Linked DNA regions of Homo sapiens: all the other regions are linked to region 6. The links are contacts of gene promoters, found by promoter capture Hi-C in blood cells and fetal thymus (Javierre and others, 2016). All regions are on one chromosome and are shown on one strand. The core of a region is centred on a gene start or on the middle of the fragment in contact, and the rest is flanking DNA. Distances in the headings are between cores, read along the strand shown. Region 1 overlaps MED12L (mediator complex subunit 12L). Region 2 overlaps MED12L (mediator complex subunit 12L). Region 3 has its middle 250 kb from the start of MBNL1-AS1. Region 4 overlaps MED12L (mediator complex subunit 12L). Region 5 overlaps MED12L (mediator complex subunit 12L). Region 6 holds the start of SUCNR1 (succinate receptor 1). Region 7 has its middle 220 kb from the start of MBNL1-AS1.

The links. Contacts are between HindIII fragments. The CHiCAGO score rates a contact against its expected background, and 5 or more counts as called.
Region 1: a contact is called between a fragment that was not itself captured here and the fragment with the promoter of SUCNR1 in region 6, in 1 of 17 cell types (fetal thymus). The highest score is 5.5, in fetal thymus.
Region 2: a fragment that was not itself captured here is called in contact with the fragment with the promoter of SUCNR1 in region 6 in 1 of 17 cell types (monocytes); the score reaches 6.4 in monocytes.
Region 3: a fragment that was not itself captured here is called in contact with the fragment with the promoter of SUCNR1 in region 6 in 2 of 17 cell types (total CD4 T cells and fetal thymus); the score reaches 5.5 in total CD4 T cells.
Region 4: a fragment that was not itself captured here is called in contact with the fragment with the promoter of SUCNR1 in region 6 in 1 of 17 cell types (M2 macrophages); the score reaches 6.0 in M2 macrophages.
Region 5: a contact is called between a fragment that was not itself captured here and the fragment with the promoter of SUCNR1 in region 6, in 2 of 17 cell types (monocytes and M2 macrophages). The highest score is 6.6, in monocytes.
Region 7: a contact is called between a fragment that was not itself captured here and the fragment with the promoter of SUCNR1 in region 6, in 1 of 17 cell types (activated CD4 T cells). The highest score is 5.9, in activated CD4 T cells.

Annotation. Positions count from the first base shown.
Region 1 is chr3:151,200,103-151,202,802 of GRCh38, forward strand. The region is part of intron 16 of MED12L (mediator complex subunit 12L); the gene reads left to right. GPR171 (G protein-coupled receptor 171) reads right to left here. Exons shown (of 3, transcript NM_013308.4): 2 at 807-895. Among named protein-coding and RNA genes, the nearest start is that of GPR171, 1.8 kb to the right of the region's middle. The HindIII fragment of the contact is 235 bases long and covers 1,208-1,442 here.
Region 2 is chr3:151,161,785-151,164,484 of GRCh38, forward strand. It overlaps MED12L (mediator complex subunit 12L), which reads left to right. Exons shown (of 45, transcript NM_001393769.1): 9 at 2,109-2,258. Among named protein-coding and RNA genes, the nearest start is that of GPR171, 40 kb to the right of the region's middle. The HindIII fragment of the contact is 409 bases long and covers 1,181-1,589 here.
Region 3 is chr3:152,518,772-152,521,471 of GRCh38, forward strand. No RefSeq gene overlaps it. Among named protein-coding and RNA genes, the nearest start is that of MBNL1-AS1, 250 kb to the left of the region's middle. The HindIII fragment of the contact is 2,193 bases long and covers 339-2,531 here.
Region 4 is chr3:151,183,001-151,185,700 of GRCh38, forward strand. MED12L (mediator complex subunit 12L) reads left to right here. Exons shown (of 45, transcript NM_001393769.1): 12 at 2,330-2,461. Among named protein-coding and RNA genes, the nearest start is that of GPR171, 19 kb to the right of the region's middle. The HindIII fragment of the contact is 1,886 bases long and covers 346-2,231 here.
Region 5 is chr3:151,231,374-151,234,073 of GRCh38, forward strand. The region is part of intron 16 of MED12L (mediator complex subunit 12L); the gene reads left to right. All of the region lies in intron 1 of P2RY14 (purinergic receptor P2Y14), which reads right to left. Among named protein-coding and RNA genes, the nearest start is that of GPR171, 30 kb to the left of the region's middle. The HindIII fragment of the contact is 3,000 bases long and covers 1-2,700 here.
Region 6 is chr3:151,872,195-151,874,894 of GRCh38, forward strand. SUCNR1 (succinate receptor 1) reads left to right here and starts at 1,449. Exons shown (of 3, transcript NM_033050.6): 1 at 1,449-1,512. The region is part of intron 1 of AADACL2-AS1 (AADACL2 antisense RNA 1); the gene reads right to left. The HindIII fragment of the contact is 8,098 bases long and covers 1-2,700 here.
Region 7 is chr3:152,486,487-152,489,186 of GRCh38, forward strand. No RefSeq gene overlaps it. Among named protein-coding and RNA genes, the nearest start is that of MBNL1-AS1, 220 kb to the left of the region's middle. The HindIII fragment of the contact is 1,244 bases long and covers 690-1,933 here.

The sequences.
Region 1 (2,700 bases), core at 75-2,574, 670 kb before region 6:
CTTTTTTTTTCTTTCATTGTGGGTTTTGAAGCAGTTAAAAGCCCAGAAGCATAAGACATACCCTTAGAACTACTGTGATCACCACTGATAATGACAATGAAGTCTTGTCATGTCCCTCCCAAATCTGGAACATTGAGCGGGTTTGTAAGCTCAAGTTAAACTGATAGGGCTCCCTTTGACCTGGTCTATTCAAACTCACATGCTTAGAGCTAAGGGTACATTAGTAATCTTTCTGGTGCTGCCTGTTGGTGTGGGTCCCCCTTTTGCACATTAAACAGTGTTCTTTTGTTTTAAAGACCTGAAGATTATTTTTGTATTTTAGCAAGGAAACATTTTATATTATAATACAACCTTTTTAAAAGAAGCAAATATAAGTTATAGTGACCAACATTGAAGGCCAGATCAGCTACTCTGTAAGTGCCTTTTAATAAGAGAATAAAACTTCTGACATCTTTCTAAATTTTAATTTCCCCAATTAATTAATGATCCTTTGTGTGCATTTGTAATGAAACAATGTATGCAAACAGATGAATAAGGCAGATGTACACAAAGCTTTCTAAATTCAAGTGCTGCTTAAAGGCTACATGCCCTTTCTCTTTCCCTACCTGAGTTAGCACGTTAGAGTCCATGAATAATGTCATTCTTTACCAAACTCGATGAAAATAATTAAGCAGTTGGTTTGTATCTGGCACTATGCCAAATACTTTACATGTACTTATTTAACTTCTTATCATTTCCATAAGCTAGGTGTTGTTATTGTCCCTGCTTTACAGATGAGGAAATTGAGGCATAATGGGGTTACTTACCCAAGGTTGTGTAGCTGGTAAGATATAAAGCCAGGATTCCAGCTCAGTCAGTCTGATCTCAGAATCACATTCAAAACCACTCCAAAACACTGCCTCAGTAACAATAGTAAGATGATGATAGAAATGATAATGATTATTATTATATCTGCCAGTCTTTACTAAGGGCTTACTGTGTGGGCAGGAACTATGTTCTAAACAATTTTTATGTAATAAAGCTGAAATAAACTATTTTTAACTTTTTACCAAAATACTAAGAATATAAGTTTAGGCTTTTCGTATATTTTGCTGTTCTATGCATACAACCACGTGCACACACTCTCTCTCTCTCTCTCTCTCTCACACGCACATTTAAAAACAAAACCTAGGCCCATCCAATAAGTTTAAACCAACTTTGCTCTCAAAGCTTCCATAACCTAGTTTCTCTCTACCATCTCTACTTACATCCCAGATTAAGATTGGGATTGGTGGGGTCTCTATTATTCTGTGTACAGTTCCTTCCTGCCTTTATACTTTTGCATGTGATAGAAATTTTGGAGTCATAGGATTTTAAGGATGGATGGAAACTTTATCGATAGCCTGTAGTCTAATCCCCAAGTCAGTTGAGGAGATTGAGGGCTGGCACTGGTGTGTTCCTCAAGCTTTCACAGCATGTTCAGGCAGGACTAAGATCTGTTCTTATTGGTCATCTTCTAAGCGCTCTGCATTTATCCTTACTATTCCTGAATCCTGCTTATTCCAGAGCTTTAAGGAAGCTCCTCACATCTGAAAGCTACTCCAGGCTTTACCGATGTCCTTGGCGACCATGAATTTGGATAGTTACCATTTGTACCTTGGAATTTTGAACATACTTTTCTTCTTTATGTGAAAAACTAGTATTCGTGTGCATTGATATAGTGTCACATCTTTGCTTATTGTTACTTTCTAAGGCCCTAGGATTTTGGCTTACGCACTTCTATTTCAAATATTACATAATAATGGTAACATAATGTGTTTCTTTAAGTGCTCCATTGCTTGCACAACTATAAAATAAGTCTGTTGTATCAATGAGACGTATATGGTAAAGAGAAGAATTAGAGTAATTTATTTTGATTAATTTTCTCTGTAGCTAGAACTGACGATATATACCGTACATGAATAATTTATCTGAAATGAATAATCATTCAGTAATTCTCAAGAATCATGGAGCATCTCACATTTCTCACATTTGTGTTTGTGAACTTTTGTCTAAATTGCAGTGAGAAACAAATCTGTTTATTTAAAATTTTTGCTTATGTAAATTAGAGGTTAAAATATTGTATAATAACATCCTGTGTTCTGTGTCACAAGTTTGAGAACTAAGTGCTTAATAAATATTTTACCAGACAGTTACTTACCAGTGAAAATGTGAGATACTCAGAAGTAGTGCAGCAACAACAATACAAGATTTTAACTGTCTCTGTAGTTTGGATAGAGTGCCCATTGCTTAGAAAATAAATAAACTGGCTGGGCACAGTGGCTCACGCCTGTAATCCCAGCACTTTGGGAGGCTGAGGCGGGTGGATCACTTGAGGTCAAGAGTTCGAGACCAGCCTGGCCAACATGGTGAAATCCTGTCTCTACTAAAAATACAAAAATTAGCCAACGCGGTGGCGGGCACCTGTAATCCCAGCTACTCGGGAGGCTGAGGCAGGAGAATTGTTTGAACCCGGGATGTGGAGGTTGAAGTGAGCTGAGATCGCACCACTGCACTCCAGCCTGGGTGAAAAAGCGAGACTCCTCAAAAACAAAACAAAACAAAAACAAAATAAAAGCTTATTAGATTTTCTATGGGAATCACAGTGGAATCTTCTTGAAATCACCTATTGTAATGTTTGTAGAGGAAAGTCATCTTAAGGCCTGTTGTTCCCTGTTGTGA
Region 2 (2,700 bases), core at 135-2,634, 710 kb before region 6:
ACTCAACCACTATGCTAAACTGGGGTCTGCAGAAAGTTTCAAAAAGGAATTAGTAGTGGGCAATGTGTAGAGTATTGGAGACATCTGGCAAGAAGATGGCTGAAGTAGTCTTTAACAATATAGTGTTCATTGGTGATCTTTTAAAGAGCTATTTAATTGAATGGTGGATAAGGAGCCAAATTAAGGAATGTCGAGGAGTGATGGAGAATAAGGAGAAATAGCACTAATTGTTGTTTTGAGAAACGTGTTTATGAAGAGAAGAGAAGAGAATGGATAATGGATAAAGATGGCAGCTGAGTGGAGAGTTAAAAATATATATATATTTTGATGGGCAGATTTGAATGTATTTTTGGGCTAAGAGCAAATAGGAGAAGGAGCAGTGTTTGATAGATCAGTGCCCTGGGTATTAGAGGGCTTTGGAATCAAGGACACAAGGAAGGGCTCTGTCAGGAGGAGTTGAGAACTCCACATTGTTACAGTCATGAGGAAGGCAGTAGGGATGTAGCCCAGTGGAAAGAGATGGATTGGTAGGTTTCAGGGACTTGACATTCTTTGTATCTGCTATCTGGTTTCCACAAAGATGTCTCCTAGACCTCAGAGTTTATTTTTTTTATTTTTATTTTTTTTAAATTGATTGATGAATTGATTGAGACAGGGTTTTGCTCTGTTGCCCATGCTGGAGGGCAGTGTGGCCTAATCTTCAGTCACTGCGGCCTGGAGCTCCTGGGCTCAAGTGATCCTCCTGCCTCAAGTAAGTGATCCTCCCCCCTCAGCCTCCTTAGTAGCTAGGACTACAGATGTGCATCACCACACCCAGCTAATTTTTAAATTTTTCTTAGAGATGGGGTTTCACTGTGTTGCCTAGGCTGGTTTCAAGCTCCTGGGCTCAAGTGATCCTTCTGCCTTGGCTTCCCAGAGCGCTGGGATTATATGTGCAAGCCACTGTGCCTGGCCAGCTTTTTGTACTTAATTTCATATTTTTGAAAAAAAATTTGCTGTTGAATGGCACAAGAGCATAATGGCTTAGATATACACTTTAAAGCTGTTACAGACCTGATTTTAAACCTCACTCTGCCACTTAGTAACGGTGACCTTGAGCCTCTGTTTCCCCGTGTCTGGTTGGGGAGTAATGATAGTTCTTACTTCATTGCCTCATAGGGTTAAGGTTATGATGACGGAAAGCTTCCAAGATAGTGTTCAGCGTAGACTAAGTGTAATTAGCTTAATTAAATGTGAGCTATAATGTTTAATCTATGTTTAGGAGGCAGGATAACATAGTGGTTCTGAGCATGTGTGCTATTAATAAAATCAAACTTGGGTTGGTTACTAATCTACGCGGCTCATAGTCCTCTTTGGTAAAGGTGGGGGATAACACTACCTAGATCATGGGGTTATTGTGACACATAAGCAAGATGGTCATATAAAGTACTTCTGGTTGAGTGAAGAGTGTCTGCAAGTGTCTAGGGCGAGGGAGATCTACAGGCTGTGGATCAAATTCGGCCCACAAGGTAAAAATAGGTTTTATGTTTTTAATGCATTATTAAAACAAAAATGAAGAATGTGTGACAAAAACTGTAGGTAGCCTGCAAAGCTTAAAACATTTACTATCAGGCTTCTTATAGAAAAAGTTTGACAACCCCTTGTCCAGGGTTACTGCCTGCCCACCATTTATGAAGCTACTATTACATGATTATTTGATTTTGTTTTTGTTTTTAAATACTTCTTTTTTTTTAGCTTTTACAGCCTTAGAAATTACATATTATAAGTTCATCTCATGTTTTTAATTGCATGAAAAATTGGTTTAAGTGACGATTTTTAAGTGATGATTACTGCATTTTTATTAAGTTCCTTCAGGTTCCTGTTGGAGTATTAGCTTATGAATTATTCCTTAATTTCTCAACAGCTGTACTTCCTCCCTTTCAACTTAATAATTTTTAGTTTTGTCTTCTCAATTGCGAAGTTGAGAATGGGGTAAGACACTCTCGTATTTTAAACTTACTAGTAGGAGACAATAATACAGTGATGACAGGGTGTCGTTTTTACTGTTTAGCTATTGTTATGCTTTTCTCCTTCCTCTGAACATCCAACTTTATCTGTTTCATTTCCAGACTGTCACTCTCTGTTGCCCAAGTGCCTTGGTGTGGAATTATTCCACAAATGAAAATAAGAGCGCAAACCCAGGCTCACCCCTGGATCTGCTGCAGGTGGCCCCGTCCAGCCTCCCCATGCCGGGTGGGAACACGGCTTTCAATCAGCAGGTAGACTTTATGTTTCAGTGATTTGATGGCTGTTTTCATTCTTGACAGGCATCAGGGCACAGTGGGTCAAGCACAGGTTTTAGTATCTAGATGCTTGGGTGCTATCCCAGTTTTGCCTGCTAACACTCTGGGTGACCTTAGAGAATTGTTTAGCCTCTTCAGAACCACTGAAATTCTCGAAGTTGCTCCCTTTCTTTTCACTGTCTTGCTGAACAGTTCTTGCTGAGAGTTCTGCCACCCAGACTGTAATTATGGTGGTGGTTCTAATACATGACCATGACTCCTGTAGTAGTTTTGATATTTGGTAATTATTATATGTTCTTATTGGTACTGGGTTATTTGTTTCAAAGCCTTATGTGACTTGAACCATAGGATTGTGATTAATATTTAGAATAAGATCCCTGTCTTGGGATCTAGAACTAGAAATACCATTTGACCCAGC
Region 3 (2,700 bases), core at 185-2,684, 650 kb after region 6:
CTTCCTCCATACCATATGTAAGACTCTTATTCAATCCCCCGAACCCTCTCATTTTCCCTATCCATCCATTGTTGTCTAGTGCACAATATTTACTATACTTTACAATATAATATCGGAAAGGGGGGCATTAGAGTGCTATTCTCAGAAGTTCATCCGATGGCCAGAGGTTAGCAGATTCATGAAAAAAAAAAAAAAAAAAAAAAAAAAAAAGCAACCTAAAGACTTTTTGGATCTTCTGTTTTTAGTAAAGTTATATAACTAACTTTTTGAAAAATCTCCCACTCTAAAACTTTTTATGTATGTTGGGTAAAATATGATCACCTTATTTTCAAATGCAAAGCTTGATTCATAAGATGTAGAAGGACATTCCCACAGAATGAGAAACAAAGTAGGCTATCATAACACCTGACATCATCTCTGATGAGTATATCTTCAAATCTCTATGTCCCAATGCCTTGGCTTTTTGCAGCTCCACATAGGACAGGAAATGAGGTCTTAGTACACTCAAAAACGGAGATTTTGAGCAGGGGATCCATATACACCTGAGAGCCATAAAAGGCCACATTCTCAAAGAATAATAGACTTGTAAAATCTGCTCCCCAGCAAAGAGAAATAATAAGGAAATCAATCACTCTTGGTGTAGCCTCTGGGTTAAAAGTAATCTTGGGGGTTGGGATTCATCTTTCACTTATCTGTAATGTCTGATAAACCCCAAACCAGACAATTGACTTTATGTGGTTCTAGACTGATAGAAACTCAGAACACCTGGTAGAAACCAAAGCAAATACTCTCTAAAGAGATGCCCAGTCATCAGAGACCTCATTGAATTCCCACTGATGAAGCTAGTCATTTAAGTAAATTCACAATCCAAATTACAAAGCATAGAAGGCATAAGGCCACAATGAGAAAGAGCCAGTAAAACCAAGAAAAATCCAAATTTGACCCTCAAGGGCTTTGGCTATTCAAATTATTGAATGTAGAATGACAAGCACACAAACATATAACCACAATTATTGAATAAAAACTAATATAATGTGGTTTTAAGATTCTCAGAATGTTTGATGAGCATAGCATTGCATTTCTTGATTTGTTACAGAATGGATAAGGAGATTTTGTGATTCAGTCGTCTGGTGACTAATTGGAATTTGCTTTTTTAAACACATAAGGGAGGGGTGAAAATGGAAAATGTTTATAAAACAAATGAAAGTCCTCTTTGAAACTAAAATTATAATAGTAACCCTTAGAAAAGAATTTAGTAATTTGAGAAATAGCATCCTTAAACTTGGTCTCATGGCTTAACTAGTATTATTTTCTCTGTCTGTAAAATGAAAATTTTAGACCAGTCTATGGGTGAGAGATAAAATGCTTTTTCTCCTCTCTTATATTTCATTTTGCAGGCTTGAAAAAAAGAAGGTTCTGCTATTTTTGAGAACTCCACTATTTTTCATAGTGGTAAGCTGATAAGTTTCTAATTAAAAACAAACCTAGATCTATCATGTTAATATAGAATCATTTCCCAGGTACATTGTTAAGTGAAAAAAACTGAAGATACAGAGCAGTGTCTAAATGTCTTATTTGTGTAAAAAACATACATATTATACTTATTTATATTTGAATAGACTATTCTTGCAGGAATATGCAAAAAAAAATGATATTTGTTTGAGGGAAGTTGCTAGTGAATTTAGAGATCTGGAAAGGAGTAAAACTGACCGTTTTAAACCTCACTTAATTGTTATTTCAAATTTAGAAACTTCGTTAATAGAAAATAGACAAATTCTCTCACTAACCAGCAGATACCTTCTTTAGTTAATGATTATGCATTATTTGCCATTCATTTAGGCAATGCAATATCTAACATGTATACTGTATTAAACAGCTTGACTATGTTTGCTTAGGTCTAACTCCTAGCCCACAATTTTTTAGCTTTATGAAGTTGGTCAAGTTACTTGGCCTGTCACTGGCTCAGTTTTGTCTTCTATTTAATGGCCAAAATAACAAAATTGTGTTAAAAATTAAATAAGCTAATCCATATAAACTGCTTTATACAGTACCTGACACATGGAAAAAAACATAATGAACGTTAGCTCTAATCATTATTTCAACCTTGCTGATAATTTTCCAGTTCCTACATTTCAAACACCTGCATGTACTTGAAATCTCAAAAATGGTCACTAATTAAAGTGGAAAGTTTTAATACATTGTAGGACACTGTTATTTGACAATTATTACAGATTCACTTTCAAAACTTCTTTTGTCAGGCATATTTTGAAGATGACAGAACCAGACTGAAATATCAGAATAAGATCAATATTGTTGCCTCACATAAATGTTTGGTCTTCAGGCTATATACCATCTGATGAGCACCTGCACATAAACATTACATTTCACAGTTTGCCAAATATTTCATGAGTATTAGGAAGTGCATCCCGTAAACAAGAAAATAAAATATGCACTTGGTTTATGAAATCATATCATTATTCCATTTGAAATAATAAGTGAATGAAATCCTTCAGTAATATCAGTTGAGAGAAAGCTTGGCTTCCAGATAATTCAAATTTATTATTTTACAAGGACAAATAAGATTAATTATCAAACAGACAAAAATACCAGACTTCACAGAAGACCATAATTTCTTCCCAAAAGACTGATTTACATTTGAAGCCAAATTGTTACAGAATGTTCAGTTTATAAAGTATTTCT
Region 4 (2,700 bases), core at 39-2,538, 690 kb before region 6:
AAGGCTTCAGGAGAGCATATGATTTCCACTATGTTTAGATAGGTCTTTTCTGTCCTTTACATTTTTTTTCTATTTATCAGAAATCTGATATTTTTCCTCCAAGGCCCAATTTACATTTTTTTCCCCAAAACAAACAGTGTTTTTCTTTTGCATGATAAAAGCAGAAAATAAAAATCTCCTGTAGTCCTCTCTCTGGATAAAACCCTAGTTAACAGTGTGACTATATGAAGGTTCAAGACCATGCCTCTCGTAAAACCTTCCCTGGATTGTCCCTGTGGATGTGCAGTGTATAGAGCCTCTTATTCTGCTCTGTGTTTGCTGTTTCCTTCTTATCTCTTGAGTGTAAGCTTCTTAAGCAAGAAAATGTGCCTTCCTATCCCTAGCAGCACTGAACGCTCATGCACATTATGGGTGCCCAGATGAGATTTGTCTTTCTCCTGCCTTTTCAGAATCGTGTGTGCTGTGTGTACACCGTGCTTGGTTTGCTGATCTTCAGAGTGTCGTGTGTGATGAGTTTGTGTTTGTTTTCTCAGAGATGATGTGGGCACACTAGCTGTTGTTTTGGTTTATAAAAGGGATGTGGTAATGTGATTTGTTTTGACTTCTCTTTTGTTGTAGTTTATTCAGTAGATCTGAAGAAATCTGTTCTCCCACGTAGGTGTTGAGACATTACTGATCACATACAGTTCTTCTATATGTCTCCCTAATTTCACATAGATATTAAATCTCACATAAAATCTTCAGTGGGAAAAGAAGTTTTTAAATTTTAAAATCACCTGTTTCTTGTAGCACATTTTAGTGTAATCCTGAAGATGCAGGAGAAAAAAAAATCTGTGTAAATGTGGATATGAAGCATATTACTGCTTAGATTAATAAAAACTGAAAGCAGTATTTTTAGGGTAACTCTTTTTGTTATCTTTAATATTCTAAACCTATAAGCATGTGGTCCTTCACTGGATTGACTTTTATATTTTTATGTTCATATAGGTTAGAGTGAATCTGGGCAGAAAGTCCTCCCAGTTTACTTTCTGTTTTAAATGTTATGTTCAAACATTTCTTTCAATTGAGTTACTTCTCTTGTTTTAAATTAGGAAAACAGAGCTCCCTTTGAGGTATCTGCCTCAGGTAACTCATTTCTTTGGTTTGAGTAACCATGTGTTTAAATGACAAAATTTAGGGTATGATGAATAAAAATCTTGGAATAAACTGATTTTCATGATCTGAATTGTTTGCTAGCATCTACAGCTGATCAGGGATACTTATTCTGGGATTCTTGGATGGCTTTTCAGACTGCACAGACATTCCGAAATGTGCTAAGTTCATGCATGTATGTATGTATGTTCTTCCATGGCGTGTGCTCATAGCCATATCGTAATCTTAATTGAGTTTATGGATTCTACAGTATTAACTTCCTTCATAGCCTGTAGTGCTAATGCTGCGATTATCTAGTTTTTCTGGCATCATGTTTATCCCCATGGGGACATATTAAAAACTTGTAGTTGATGTCCTATTGGTTGGCGTGGACCCTCTAAAAGGAAAGGACAGATCACACGGAAGTACCATCTCCCCGCTCACCACTCGCTGCACCCCTATCCGCGACTCATGTCATTTGGGTCCCCAACATCCTCTCATCCTCAGTCGCTGGTGCCTATTTCTAGGCCATGACAACTGTGGCTGACAGTTCTGGTCACCATGCTGAGCCCTACCTAGACCCGGCTGCTGTCCTTGGTTGACTGTGTCTGCCCTTAATTGTTGGTTCGTTTTGGTGCTGGGCTGTCATTTTTCGTGTTTGTTATTTCCATTGGGACGGGTGTTTTACCAGCGTTCCAGCCTCCCCTCTGGTTTGTTCCTTCTAATTTTGTATTGGAGTGGGTCACTGGATAACCTGGCTTGTCAGAATTATTTATTGTATGAGGCATTGAGTGAGTGGGGGGCCTGAGGGTGCCAACAGTAGAGTGATGTACTTTGACTTTGTGACAGCTGTTCTTGACAGTCAGTGGTTGTTTTTTTCCCTTACTATTTGGTTTTGAAATTTGAGTTCTAGAGGGTAGCTGGGGCTAGGTTATGTCCCTGTGTAAGTGAAGGCATCCACAGGGAAGCTCTAATTCTTTTGGAATTGTCACAGATTCAGCATAAGTGATTTCTTTCCTTGTATAGGTTTATTTTTTGTATTTCAATTAAAAATGTTTTGGAAGCGCTTTCTAAAGCTACTATAATAAAACATGGAAAAAAGCTTTAAAGTGTTAGATATTCCCTTGCTTGCTTCCTGCCTCTTGCTGGGTGAATGTTTCATTTGATGTGGCTGGTACCCCTCTCTGTTGGTCATTAGGTTGCGCCCAACGATGAAGCTGTGGTGACGCTGTTATGTGAATGGGCCGTGAGCTGCAAACGGTCTGGCAAGCACAGGGCCATGGCTGTGGCAAAACTCCTGGAGAAGAGGCAAGCAGAAATTGAGGCAGAGGTAGGTTCCATTTTCTTTCTGCTTGTTGAATGCCGTAATGTAAAAATACTGTTTTGGGGAAGATCATTTTCTCTTACCCTCATTATGTTATTCTTTTGCTCTTGAGGAAAAAAGGGAGGATGTAAAAATTCACATAAGGAAGATTCTTATAGTAGAATCTCTCTAAATTGATGCAGCCATTTATATTCTGGACTAATTTAAAAATGGTATCTTTTAAAATAAAACTTTAGGCTGGGCAC
Region 5 (2,700 bases), core at 157-2,656, 640 kb before region 6:
AAAAAGTATACCTCTGAAGCAGAGAGATCTGGTGGTCACTGAATGATCCAACTTACCAAAAGTGAGATAATCTGGCATCGTATGCCTCCTGATATGATTTAGTTAGATGTACACAACATACTTTTGTAATAAACTGTATCAAAAATCTTCAATGAGCAATCAGACAAATTTAGAATATGAAACATTTGATAAAGCAACCAGCCTTGGACTCTTTAAAAAAATCAATGCCACGAGAAACAAACATGATGGGCTGGAAGGGGACAGTCGTAGATTAAAACAGGCCAAAGAGAAATAACACCGTTAATGAGTGGTGATTGTTGGCTGGAGGGAATAGCCATACAAATTGTTTTGAGACAGTTGTATAACTCTGAATACAGATTCTAGATTAGGTAATATTACTGAGTAATAATCTTCCCAGAAATATTGATGGTGTGGTTAAGCGAGAGAGTATTTAGAGATGCTTATTGAAGTATTTAGAAGGGAAGGGTCATGATTACCTGCAACTTATTTTGAAAGTACTTCAGTACAAGAAAACAAAGTGTTATGTTTGTATGTTTGTATAAACTTGTGTATTCATGGGCTTTTTTTGCTGATATATGCATGCCTATATGCACATATACATGTATACACACACGTGTGTGTGTTGGTTTTGAGGGAAGGGTCCTGTGCTCCGTGCCTGACAGGTAACGAATGCCTAATAACAGTCTCCTGGGTGTCTCTGCTATTTTTCTTACCTTTCCTTCTTACTTTCCTGTGGGGTCTCCTCTGCCCATCCTTAAAATTGATGTTTCTTGTTCTATTCTTGGCCATTTTCTTTTCTCTTTCTATATACTCCTCTATGCCAAAGTAGTCTTTACTTAAAACATTGTTTGTAGCTCTTTGAGCAATCACAGTGTTGCTTTCCACAATGGTTGAACTCATTTACCCTCCCACCAATGTGTGGAAGTGTTCTCTTTTCTCTGCAACCTTGCCAGCATCTGTTATTTTTTGACTTTTTAACGATAGCCATTCTGATTGGTGTGAAAACAGAACTACCATTTGACCCAGCCATCCCATTACTGGGTATAAACCCAGAGGAATAGAAATCATCCTACCATTAAGACACATGCACATGAATGTTCATTTCAGCACTATTTCATAATAGCAAAGACATGGAATCAACTTAAATGTCCATCAGTGACAGATTGGATAAAGAAAATGTGGCACATATATGCCATGGAATACTATGCAGCCATAAAAAAAGAATGAGATCATGTCTTGTGGGAATATGGATGGAGCTGGAAACCATTATCCTTAGTAAACTAACAAAGGAACAGAAAACCAAATACCACATGTTCTCACTTATAAGTGGGAGCTAAATCATGAGAACTCATGGACACAAAGGGAACAGTAGACACTGAGGCTTACTTGAGGATGGAGGGTGGGAGGAGGGAGAGGAGCAGAAAGATAACTATTGGGTACTAGACTTAGTACCTGACAAAAAAATCTGCAACAAATCCCTGTGGCATGAGTTTACCTATATAACCTTCAGATGTACCCTTGAAACTAAATTTTTTTTAATATTGTTTAAAACCATCATCTGTAAAACAAAATTTTCTTTTCACCTTTCAAATATTCTTCTAACAGCTATTACCAGACAGTGTATGTGCTATTGGTGATAAAGCAATAAAAAAACACCAACATTGTCCCTGCCCTCTTGGAGCTCAGAGCCTGCTGTTCTGGCATCTGAGCAGCCCCATTTCTTTCCCCTCCTCCCCTGAACATCTCTAGTTTCTGCAGATCTGGGTCATTTGCAGCTCTGGATGTTGACGAGCCCGGCTGCCTCACCTCCACAGGGTAGCACTCTCGTGCCCTCTGAGTTTAGTCATGCCTCACCTTGAGCTACGCTGTCTTGTCATCTCTTATTCTCATCACATTCTGTAGCAATAGCTACCATTCATTTTGAGTTTTGTGTTTTACCAAACACAGACAGTGTTAATTGCTTTTAAATATAGTCTTTCTTTTCAATGGAATGTTTGATACTTTGAAAAGACTACATGTAGTATAAGTTAAAGCACAACAAAAAGAACATAGCACTGGGCCGGGCGTGATGGCTCCCGCCTGTAATCCCAACACTTTGGGAGGCCGAGGCTGGCGGGTCACCTGAGGTGGGGAGTTTGAGACCAGCCTGACCAACATGGAGAAACCCTGTCTCTACTAAAAATACAAAATTAGCTGGGCGTGGTGGCAGGTGTCTGTAATCCCAGCTACTCGGGAGGCTGAGGCAGGAGAATCACTTGAACCCGGGAGGCGGAGGTTGTGGTGAGCCGAGATCGTGCCATTGCACTCCAACCTGGGCAACAAGAGTGAAACTCCGTCTCAAAAAAACAAAAACAAAAACACAGCACCGACTTGAGAGCGAGAGTCCCACAGGCATTCTTGGATCGTTCCTGTTCCTCCTCTGCCATCCGCCTTTCTCCGCCTTGTGGTAACTCTGTCCTGAATTGTGTGTTTTTTATTTCCTCCCTTTTAAAACTAATGATTTTAGTCCATGTGTACATACATTCCTTTGTAAAAATTGTTCATGCTATATGTAATCTTTTAGGACTTTAAAACATAATGCTGAGTAGAGAAATTTAAAAAGTCTATCACTTTGGAAAGGGAATTGGAAATACTTGGTGAAGATGAACATTCACTCACTCTGTAGCTGAGCATTTTAAC
Region 6 (2,700 bases), core at 199-2,698:
TAATTCTTAGACTTTGTTGTGCACAAGGGTATTGTCATTCAATTCTGTAGGCAGTCAAGAATCAGAGTCGGTGCTTTTAGAATCCAAGTACATAGGCTTAAGCTCTGGTCCCTCCCGTTATTGATTCTGCAATCTTGAGAAAGTTAATTGACCTCTCTGAACCTTAGCTTTTTAATCTGCAAAATGAGAAAAATCTTAAATAATAACAACCTCAGAGGATTACTATATGCATTTGATGCATAAAGGTACTTAGTGTAATACCTGCCTGCCACATCACAAGAACTCAACAAATTATAGATATTTTTATTTCATGTAAATGCACATGTTTGTATACATAAATATTCATACATGTATAAATATATTTTACACATGTATATAAAGTGTGTAATATAGACACATATGTATGTATATATGTATGTGTATATATACATACATATATTTTGAGTTCCTGAGTTTTTAAGCTGTCAGATATTGGTGAGGAGAAATGCTTAGTTAGGAGGATGCCTGTAACAGAGCTTCTTTTTGGGCTTCTGCCTGTCATTGCTAACTCAATATTCAACTTACATAGCATTTAAATTGAATTACTGCTGCCTGCACAATTATGGGCTTTCTTAGTATAATCCCTATGCTTCACATCAAGAAGACTGAGTGTTTACTTGAATCTAAACCTAATATAATGCTTGGAAAAAGCCAGGTGTGCTTCCTGTCTGAAATGGTGGTAATGTACTTCCAGATGTTTTTCAGAGCATTGATTGGGATATATAAATTGCCATCTATTAAGGTTATTTTACTTAGCATCTCTCTCCCTAATCCCTAGCTATCTGATGTATCTTTTATGTGTTTCTTGATTTTAAGCACAGAAAATAAAATGGAAAATAACTTGAAGCTCTAGTATCTTTTTGCTAGTACACCAACATAGCATATATCCAGGTTTCCCTTTAAAATTTCAGTTTTATAGTTCCCTCAAAGTTATTGAAAACAGAGGTTTCGTTATTATATTCTCAATACAGAATTCACTAAGAAAATTAATTTTAAAAAAGAAGAAAAGCAGAGGCAACTGTATTCCCAATATAAGCAGTATTTACCACTTCTTATTGTGTAAATATGCAAATAAAATGAAAATAAGGAATGCTTCTCTGTTGCTTTGGTAGTGGATAAAATAAGTTCAACAGTGTTTTTCTAAAAATCTATTTGGTAAATGTGTTTCCTGTGAAATGAGTTACTTGTTTTTTGTCATTCAATTGCAAAACTGCATGTGAAAATAAAATAAATGTGAATGTGAAAATAAAAGCCTCACAAAAATTCCTCTGCATGAACATCTCTGACTGGGAGGTTTGACTGAATAAATTATTCCTGGGCTTTTGAATTATTAATCTTGGCTGCAGGATATGCAAATAGGATATGCAAATAGGACACTGTAATAACCATGTCCAGTGGCACAACACTGGGTCAGAAGCTATATCCAGCTGCTGGCAGAGTTCCTGTCAAGGGATCAAGTCTTCCAACAGAATGGTAAGCTACATGGCAAATTGTGCCTCTCAGTGTATAAAGTAAGGCCAGATTTCCTTCTAAAGGTGACCTGTGAGCAATTAAGGTTTTCAGTATTAAGTGTTTAAATTAATTCTTTATAAATAGATGTAAAACAGCAAAATAATTGAAAAAAAAAAGTCATTTTTATCTCTACGTTTATTTTTCAACAAATTAACTGTCTTCTTTTAGTTGTCAAATACTAATTTTATTTTATGTAAAAGGATTTATTATATTTGCTAACATCTCAACAACTTATATTTCAACAAAATAGTAATTGGATTTACCTAAATAAATATAACTACTTATGGGGAAAAATTAAAGTTCCTAAATGATTTGAAACAATCATGTATTTGATACATACACACACACACACACACACACACACACACACATATACATACATATATATATATATATATATATTTTTTTTTTTTTTTTTTTTTTTTAAGACAGAGTTTCACTCTTGTCACCCAGGCTAGAGTGTCTGAGTGCCAGAGTGACACATTTACAGCATGTGTTGGCTCACTGCAACCTCCGCCTCTGGGGTTCAAGCAATTCTCCTGCCTCAGCCTGCAGAGTAGCTAGGATTACAAGCGCCCACCACCACGCCCGGCTATTTTTTTTGGATTTTTTAGTAGAGATGGAGTTTCACCATGTTGGTCAGGTTGGTCTCAAACTCCTGACCTCAGGTGATCCACTCATCTCGGCCTCTCCAAGTGTTGGGATTCCAGGCATGAGCCACTGTGCTGGGGCATAATATTTTTATGTTTAGAAAATAATGTATTTGGGGGAATTTTCAGGCATCCTAAAAATTAAATTTAACATTTATGTGTGTAAAAATGATATTACCCAATAATTAATTTACTTAGGAAAAATGAAAAATTGCAGAAACCATTTCTATTCTACCTTCCATAACTTTTCAAAATGTGTGTGGTATTCTTAAAGAAGTTAATACACAATTTGTGCCATACTATTACTTTTTAATACCTTAATTTCTGGTGTAATGTATGGAATACATAAAAATAAAGTTACAAATGTTAAATTATTATATCTTTTCAGTGTGAATATATATTTTTGCTCAAATTATTTAGTAATCAAAAAAGTAATTTGTTAAAAAAAATTCTCATGTTACCATGTAAATTTGCCTTAAGGTAGCACTTAAAAGTAAAC
Region 7 (2,700 bases), core at 62-2,561, 610 kb after region 6:
GGGGGACTAACAGCATTTCTGAGTCTCCTGAGTCAAGATCGTGTGAAGTTACATCATTTGGCAGTAAGGAAGCCAACAAGATCAGCAAACCATGTGTCAGCATTTGTCTGCAGGTACTTCTTTGTGTGTGTGCTTACTAAATTATTTATATTTATAATCTCATGTAATCAAAGGGAGACAAATGATTTTGTTCATGTCATAGAGGAAAAAAATTACTTGTTATTTAAAGTGCAAATGTATGTAGTAACTTCTGCCTACTAGGAGGCATGGCACATTTTTATCAATAGAAGTAATAATCTCCTTATTGCTCTATTTCTCTGAATTATCTATTTTAGAATAGTATGCTGCAAATGCAAATGTCTTGTGTAAGTAGGACATTTATGTTCCAGTCGTTGTTTCAGCCATGAAGAAGGAGAGAATTCTGCATTTTGATCAAATCAAGTGCAAAGACACAAACGGTCTTGGGAGAGGAGGTTCAAGTGAGAATCACAAGAGAGCAGGAATTATGAACCTAGGGCGATCACAGGAACCTAGGTCCCTGCAATACATAGAAATCTAATGGGTCTACACAGTATAGGAGGCAGCATGTGTGGGTAGGTATATTCCAATGTTTACTATGTTTGTGCAAGTATAGTATTACAATAAGGTTATGACTCCATTTCTTAATGTTTGTCTGCTAACAACTTTTAAGCTTCTCCTCTTCCTTTTCCTCTTTTTTCCCATATGTGGGCAACCTGATTAGAAAGCCTAATACTTTCTCCTTTGGCACCTGCAGGAAGTTCAAGCCGCATACAGGAATCCTCACCTCAGTCTTCCTCTCTGATTACATAAAAACCCCATGCTAGTCTTTTTTCCCTCCTCTGTCAAACTACTTTTGGATTTGCTTGGAATCTATCTTCCTCAAAAAGCCTCATTATTTGAGTAGTAAACCTTTTCTTTTAATTAATTAATTAATTATTTTTTTTTTTGAGACAGTCTCCCTCTGTCACCCAAGGCTGGAGTGCAGTGGTGCGATCTCAGCTCACTGCAACCTCCGCCTCCCAGTTCAAGCGATTCTCATGCCTCAGCCACCTGAGTAGCTGGGACTACAGGAGTACACCACCATCCTCGGCTAATTTTTGTATTTTTAGTAGAGATGGGGTTTTGCCATATTGGCCTGGCTGGTCTCAAACTCCTGGCCTCAAGTGATCCACCTGCCTTGGCCTCCCAAAGTGCTGGGTTCACAGGTGTGAGACACCACATGATATGGTTTGGCTGTATCCCCATGCCAATCTCATCTTGAATTCCCACATGTTGTGGGAGGGAGCCGGTGAAAGGTAATTGAATCACGGGGGCTGGTCTTTCCCTTGCTGTTCTCATGATAGTGAATAAGTCTCACGAGATCTGATAGTTGTATAAGGGGGTGTTTCCTGCACAAGCTCTCTCTCTTTGCCTGCCACCATTCACATAAGATGTGACTTGTTCCTCCTTGCCTTCCCCCATGATTGTGAGGCCTCCCCAGCCATGTGTAACTGTTAGTCCATTAAACCTTTCTTTTGTAAATTGCCCAGTCTCGGGTATGTCTTAATTAGCAGCGTGGCAATAATACACCACGCCTGGCTAATAAACATTTTCATACTCTCTTGGTGTATCATTCTCAACATTCAAACAAATTTTGGATATAGGTTCATTCCCTTGTGTTACATAAGCATGTAAGTACATTTCAGTATATATGCACAGTTAGATTTTAGATTTAGGTTGAATTTATAGGGAGAACCCTACTATCAGAAAGAGAACTCAAAACTTGTGAAAGGAAATAAGAGATCTGAGTAAATATTTTTCTGAAGTCTGTGTTTAAAATTCACATTGAGTGAATATAGCTAAAAAGTCATTTTGAAAATTAAGGAGCTTCTGAGAAAGAGATAATCACTTTTAAAACAGCATCTAATACATAAGCTTTTCTTTTTCTTTTAAATACCAGTGAGGTTTTAAAATCCTACCCATAGTTACAGAGTACAAAATAGAGTCTCAGGTGACTATGGCAGGCATAGATATAGATTAACATAAGTTCTTGCATTTGTGTGGCTCTAGTCAGAATCAAATCAAGCACAGAAATAGACAGATGAGATAAAACCAAATGTTGATAGAGTCTATACATGAACTTGGCACCGTTAGAGATGGAAAGCCTGAGTATTACTTCTGTCATTTCTGGCACAAGGTAATGAGACTGGTAAGGGCAAAGTATTATGATCAGATGCACTGGATGACATTTAGTCACATGTTGATTAAGAAAAGAGGCATGTGGGTTTTTTGAGGTGTTAGGTGAGAAAATTCAGGGAAGTTATATGTTTAATATATGCCATTCAAGAAAGGAACATGCCAACCATTTTTTTTTTTTTTTTTTTTTTTGAGAGGGAGTCTTGCTCTGTCACCCAGGCTGGAGTGCAGTGGCGTCATCTTGGCTCTGGGTTCATGCCATTCTCCTGCCTCAGCCTCCCCAGCAGCTGGGACTATAGGCGCATGCTGCCACGCCTGGCTAATTTTTTTGTATTTTCAGTAGAGACGGGGTTTCACCATGTTAGCCGGGATGGTCTCGATCTCCTGACCTCGTGATCCACCTGCCTCGGCCTCCCAAAGTGCTAGGATTACAGGCGTGAGCCACCGCGCGCGGCCATTCCAACGATTTTTACGTCATCAGCATCAATGTGGTTTCTTTAGAAA